Regions from separate parts of the Homo sapiens genome. Here region 1 is linked to region 2. The links are contacts of gene promoters, found by promoter capture Hi-C in blood cells and fetal thymus (Javierre and others, 2016). All regions are on one chromosome and are shown on one strand. Each heading gives the region's core, a stretch centred on a gene start or on the middle of the fragment in contact. The rest is flanking DNA. Distances are from core to core; before and after follow the strand shown.

Region 1 (3,346 bases), core at 58-2,557, 5.2 Mb before region 2:
CAGAGCAGTTCTACAATTTTCTGTGTTGACACCTCCCCTAAAAAAGTCACTACATACTGTGGATGATTTTTTCTTATCCTACCAAGAGCCCAAGTGTAAGGGTGATGTGGACTTTCTTCATATCTATCAGTAAGAGCCAGGGTAGATGGATGGAAGGAAAGCAGGATAAATTCTCTTGACATCCACAATGTGCTTTAAATCAAACTAGGCATGATTTAATCCTTAGCATACCTTCTGAGTATGTAATATTAGCTCACCAATGAAGATGGAAAAAACTGAGACTCAGCACTTGTAACTCGTTTCAAATCATCCAGCTACTAAGCGATGGAGCTAGGATTCCAACTGAGGCCTCTTTGACTCTAAAATCGCAACATTCCCTCTAGATCACAGTGCCCTTCAAAATAATTTCCCAGAAAAAAGGAAGTCAAGGAGAGAATGAAAAAAAAAAGTGACAGGAAAGAATTATCTAAGGGAACAAAAATTGCTTACATCAATAAGCTAGATCATTTAATAACTGATATACACAACCACTAAGTCGTAATATGTGACTTATGTTTCAGTATTGCTAACAGAAATTTCTGAGGCTGCTCCACCCAGGTAGTACCATGGCAGTTCTTTTAGAACTTTGAACACATTCTTCCCTTAAAACTTAACCTACACAATAATCACATTAATTAAAATAGTGAGAACAATTTTACTAAGTAAAACTTTTTACTTAACTACAACACGCAGATACAAAAGGGCACAAACCAGCCAGGCTCGGTGGCTCCTGCCTGTAATCCTAGCACTTTAGGAGGCCGGGATGGCTGGACTGCCTGAGCTCAGGAGTTCAAGACCAGCCTGGGCAACATGGTGAAAACCTGTCTCTACTAAAATACAAAAAATTAGCTGGGCATGGTGGCACACGCCTGTAGTCCCAGCTACTCGGGAGGCTGTGGCACGAGAATCCTTTGAACCTGGGAGGCGGAGATTGCAGTGAACCAAGATCGTACCACTGCACTCCGGCCTGGGCGGCAGAGGGAGACTCCATCTCAAAAAACAAAAAAAGGCACAAATCGTAAATGAACAGTTTGATGAATTTTCACTAACTGAACACACAGAACACACATGTAAATGCCACTCAGATCAGAAAACAAGACATTACCAATACCCCCAAAAGTCCCTCTCACACCCCTTCCCATAGTCAATAACTTCTCTTCCCTCTCCTGACTTTTATACTACTGGCATTACTTTATAATATTATTGCACTGTTTATAATACACTTTTTGGTATGTCTGGCTTCTTTTGCCCAACATTATTTTTGTAATAACCATGAGAAGTGAATCCATTTTCACTGTCGTACAGTATTCTAATGTACGACTATGCCCAATTTATTTCTCCATTCTATAGCTGATGAACACTTAGATTGTTTCTAGTTTGGAGTCCTTATGATTAGTGCTCCTATGAACATTTTCACACATGCCTTTTGATGTACTGCTTTCTTTTCTTCGTTTGAAAATTTTACTATTTTTAAAAATTAACTGTTTTACTTTTATCTATTTTTAATTTTTATTCTCGAGAAAGTACATTGTTTATTTCTTTAGAAAAGACATATTATAAATTTATTTTATTTTTAAAAATCTGTATTATATTAAATAAGTCAACAACACAGTCTAATTATTAGCCTTTCCAGTTAAAAGCTGATATATACTTTGTGACATCTGCTTTTAGTCTTGGTAAAGCAATCAATTAAAAAATGATTTTTCAATTCCAGGGTTAGTCATCTTATCAACCTAATAAAAAGATGCATCATTACAGACACCATAGTGGTGGGACAGGGGACAAGAACGAGTGTGGTACAAATGACATATCCAAAATGTTCTAGAAATAATACCTAATCAGATTCACTATACAACAAATACACTGGGGGAAATGCAGCATGAAGCCCGCTAGTATTGTGTAACTTCTCAAGAGCCATCCAGCCTCAGTTGTTTTTTTTTTTTTTTTTGAGATGAAGTCTCGCACTGTCGCCCAGGCTGGAGTGCAGTGGCGTGATCTTGGTTCACTGCAGCCTCCACCTCCCGGGTTCAAGTGATTCTCCTGCCTCAGCCTCCCGAGTAGCTGGGATTACAGGCGCCTGCCACCACGCCCAGCTAATTTTTTGTATTGTTAGTAGAGATGGGGTTTCACTATGTTGGCCAGGCTGGTCTTGAACTCCTGACCTCATGATCCGCCTGCCTTGGCCTCCCAAAGTGCTGGGATTACAGGGGTGAGCCACCACGCCTGGCCATACGTGAATCTTTCTTTTTAAGGAACATGGGTGGGCAGTCAGGTAGGAAACTTTTTCCCCTGCATAGCTTTTATCAACATATGAACAACAAAGGTAAATAAAGCAGCTCCCTGTAAAACCAGGAAGCCTTCAGGCTTGAGTCTAGCCCTACCAGCCTCTCATTTCTCTTCACTTTTCAGCAGCAGTCACCCCATTTTCCAGGCCCCAAGACCTTTTCTCACACCTCTCACTAACGCAAACAGGGGGGAAATATTCTTTTACACTTGGGCACTTGGAATGAAATTCCTCTCCATCTACATGTTAACATTTCAGGGATTAGAATCTTTGAGGTAACTGTTAATAATTATGGAATAGAAAGTTTCACCTCCTATTAAAGGACTTCAGGCCTCTTATTACAGTGAAGGAGGTACTTTTTATTGCCCCTAAAAAATCACACTTGCCTCTGAGGCTGACTTTCATCATTACAGGCCAACTGGAGTCCAAGGGTAACACAGAAAAAACAGTTAAGTGTCTGAGCTAGCCTATTCCCTTTCTGTCCTTAACAATTCACCTCCCATCCTTCTATTCTAAGACTTCCAGGTACCAGGGGTCTGCATCTGCATTTATTGTACCTTTAACAAATGCCTACGCCAATGCCCTGATCTGGCTTTCATCCCTCTAGTCATTCCCACTCCTCATCATTGTTGAGCTGTGCTAGTTGAGCTGTTGTTCTTGGGCAGTTCTTCCTTTTGGTATAGAGCTCCTGCTGCTTTACTCTCTAGCACTCAGGACCTGAAGTGAGCAAGGGGAGTAGGACTGCTACCTCGGGTAGCAATAGTGGGATATGGGGAAAGAGTGGCAGGATGGGAGAGAATGACAGAGAATCTCAGCCTCTGGCATATTAAGTTGAAGGCAAGCAAACCTCCAACGAATAAGGAAGAACATATCTTTTACAATGTGTAACAGGAGCACAAATGTATCCATTAAGTTAAAGATGATGATCACACAGGGAAGAAAAAAGGCATCATTTAAGGCCCTCATAATTAGCAATAAAGTAAAAAGAGGTAAACGAAAATCTAGCAGGGGATCCTTACATCA
Region 2 (3,131 bases), core at 343-2,842:
TCAGATGGGATGAAGGCCATGTAGAAAGCTGAATGGGTGGGTGGCTAATGCTTTAGCGTTGGACTCCTGCAGAAATCACTGGATCACAGAAAGAATTCATTTACTTTTGAGGTCTTTATGGGGAGCCTGGCCCTGGTACTGGGTAGGAGATGTACTGTGAAACAAAGTGAAAACTGAGGTCATTTAGTCAGTGACAGCAGCTTGTATTACATTTGAGCTGTTCACCCACTCACACATCAACTGAGTGACTACCAAGTGCCAGGCCCTAAGGGTACAAACACGAACGCGACAATCTAGGCATGCTCAGCTCCATGCTGGTCCGCAGGGGCCCTCCCTCCCCGCTCCCCAACATTCCTGGGTGAGTGTAGACAGCAGATGGCACCAGGCCTCAGGAAGCCCAGCTTGGTCAGAGACTGCCCCAATTTCTCTCGGCCTAGTTGAGTTCAACCATTCAGCTAGGGGCTTGGCACCATCCCAGCCAGGCAGGGCTATCATGAGCTCCCTGACAAAATAACCCCTCTTGGCCTCTCCACCTGTGCCTTAACCAGGCAAGTGGGCTGCTCCAGCTCCACTGTCAACGGCTCCTGATTTTCACATCAGTAACGCTACACGTCCAACTGCAACTCTTCTATTTCCTACCTGCGGCTGTGTCTTTAAACATAAACCAACCGAAGCACAAACAAGCTCTCCTCTTTCCAAGCTGGGTCCCGGGTGAATGGTTCCCAAAGTAGCACAGCGAATCAGCAATCTCCCCTTGGAACCCGGCAGCAGAGGCACAGGCGAGGGAGACGAGAACTTAGACCAGAAAGCCCGTGGGGAGGGCCCAAGGAGAATGGCGGCTGCATCTGCCCCTGAAGCTCAGGGGGCTGGAGGAAGTAAGGGGCGGGGGCCGGAGGGATAGGGCTGGGCCCCGGCAGTGCCCGCAGCCCACTCTCCGGATGCGGCGGCGTTTCCCCTTTGTGGAAGTGTAACAAGTGAAACAAGGCTCCCCGCCTGCCACTAGCCCGGGCAGCCCCGAAAGATACACTGTTGCCCCAGGATGCCTGCTGGGAAGCAATGCACTGTCAGTTCTCCCAACTGGAGTTGCCAGAGAGGTTCCCGGGCCACGCGGCTCAGTGCGCGTCCCACGAACGTAGCCTACCCCTTCCCTGCCGGCCACTCCCGCCCTGGTCCCAGGCCCGCACTCACCGGCCACCTCGAGTCCGGGCTCATCGCCGGGGGCGCCCGCCGGGGCTCCGACCCCACTTGGGGAGGTCGGCGGGGAAAGTCGGGCCGGGAAGGGGGAGCCCCAACTCCGGAGACCGTAGACCTCGCCACCCCGGCCCCCTGCCGCCCCACGCTTTGGTCCCGGCTCCCCGGGATTCCTGAGCTGACCCCTGCCGCTCCTGGTCCCGCCGGCGCCCTGGGGTCTCAACTCCGTCGGCCGCCGCCCGTTTCGCGAGCCCCCAAGATGCCCGGTCTCGGGACCGGGCGCTGCTGGAACAATGGAGGCTCCCAGAGGCAGCGCGAGGACAGCGGCGGCGGAGACCGTGGCGGCAAAGGCTGTGGCAGCGGCGGCGGCAGCAGCGGCGGCGACGGCGTCTGCGCAGGGTAAACGTGGCGCCGCGGCGCTACTGAGCTGCACTTTCGCCACGGATCCCCGCCCGCCCGCTGAGGCTCGAAAGACCGTGCTCCGGGATTCAGAAAGGACCCTGGACACCCCACAGGGCTTCTCTAGCTCTCCCATCTTAGAGTGGAGTTTCTGGAGACTGAAGTCACCGTACTCGGGATCTGGGGTCGTCGGGCGGTTTGTGGCGAATCTGCAACCACGGACGGTGAGCGCGGGGCTGGGCGTGAGGAGCCCGCCCTTCTCCCCTCCCCCTCTGCCTCCTCCCTATCCGCTCCCTGCCTCCTGCTGGCGCCGCGGCTGCGGGAGGGACCTGGCCTTGGTCTCGGAGGAAGGCGGTGAGGCGGGGCCAGAGTCACGGGGCGGGGCTGGGGGCAGGGCCGGGAGCAAGAGGGATGCGGGCTGGAGCCTAAGGGACCGGTAGTTATGGGTAGGACCGGGGCGGGGCTGGAGACTAGACCGGTCTGTGGGGCGGGGCTTGTGGGAGGGGGCGGGGCTACCGCACAGCGGGGGCCTGTTAGAATAGCGGGGTAAAAAGTGGGGCTAAACAGAAGAAGAGTACTCGCGAGAGAAAGGGCGGAGCTTTGGATGAGCCTGGAAAGTGGAGCTGGACTAGAAATAAAGAACAAAGTTGGAAAAAGCGATGCGACGCTGAAGGGAGCAGGCGGGGCTTGGTAAGGCAGGGGCGGAGCTGTGGGGAAAGGGCAGGACCGATTAGGGATAACGGGGCGTGACTGAAGGAAAGGGAAGAAACTTGGGAAAAGTAAAGGAGAGGTGCTAGAGAAAAGGTATGGGTCTGAGAGAAGGGGCTGGTTTGGGGCCGGTGGGTGTGAAAGGGCTTGTCTGGTAAAGCGGTGGGAAATCTGTGGGTTGGCAGGGATGTGCTGCGGGTTGCTGATTGGAACATGGTGCCAAAACAGCTGATTTAATGTGAGTGGGTCACCTCCTAGCAATGTGAACGTGGGCAAGTTCAGTTCTTTAAGTTCCTTATTTGTAAAACAGAGCTCGAAAACTCTGTTGTTAGTTCTTGAGGGTTTCAGAGAACTTGCATGGCAGGGGGAGACATCCTTAAACAATACTTCTCCAGTTTTGTCATCAAAGAGGAGCGTGAAAGGTCTTCCAGGGTTCTGGGACAAAGCCCAAAGCATCTGAAAGCTTCTATCTTCTTAATGCAAACTTTGCATTTGACCCAATAAAATGTATGTTTTCTAAAAACCATCCCAATAAAATCGACATGCCAGGAAGAGGTTTGCTGATTAAGATCTTGGGATCTGAAGTCAAACTGATGAATTATCTTAAATGACTCATCTTCTCAGAGCCTCAGTTTCCTTATGGGTAAAGTGGGAATAATATATAGTACCTGTTCTCAGAGTTGTTGTGAGAATTAAATGAGATGATGCTTGTAAATCACCTAGCACACGGTTTGACATGTAGTGAATGTTCAAAGAAAATATTAGCTGTTATTATCCTTATTAAAATAATTCAGAATAGATGGATCAAAGCAGAGTTATACTAAGTTATCTCC

Evidence for each region. The method cuts DNA at HindIII sites, captures the fragments that hold promoters and counts their contacts. A CHiCAGO score of 5 or more calls a contact.
Region 1: a fragment that was not itself captured here is called in contact with the fragment with the promoter of BRPF1 in region 2 in 1 of 17 cell types (neutrophils); the score reaches 6.5 in neutrophils.

The regions. Positions count from the first base shown.
Region 1 is chr3:14,952,536-14,955,881 of GRCh38, reverse strand. The region is part of intron 1 of NR2C2 (nuclear receptor subfamily 2 group C member 2); the gene reads right to left. Among named protein-coding and RNA genes, the nearest start is that of FGD5-AS1, 5.8 kb to the right of the region's middle. The HindIII fragment of the contact is 8,101 bases long and covers 1-3,346 here.
Region 2 is chr3:9,730,196-9,733,326 of GRCh38, reverse strand. BRPF1 (bromodomain and PHD finger containing 1) reads right to left here and starts at 1,592. Exons shown (of 14, transcript NM_001003694.2): 1 at 1,189-1,592. RefSeq lists enhancers at 477-1,036, 1,597-2,156 and silencers at 1,114-1,243, 1,254-1,303, 1,774-2,133. The HindIII fragment of the contact is 5,381 bases long and covers 1-2,763 here.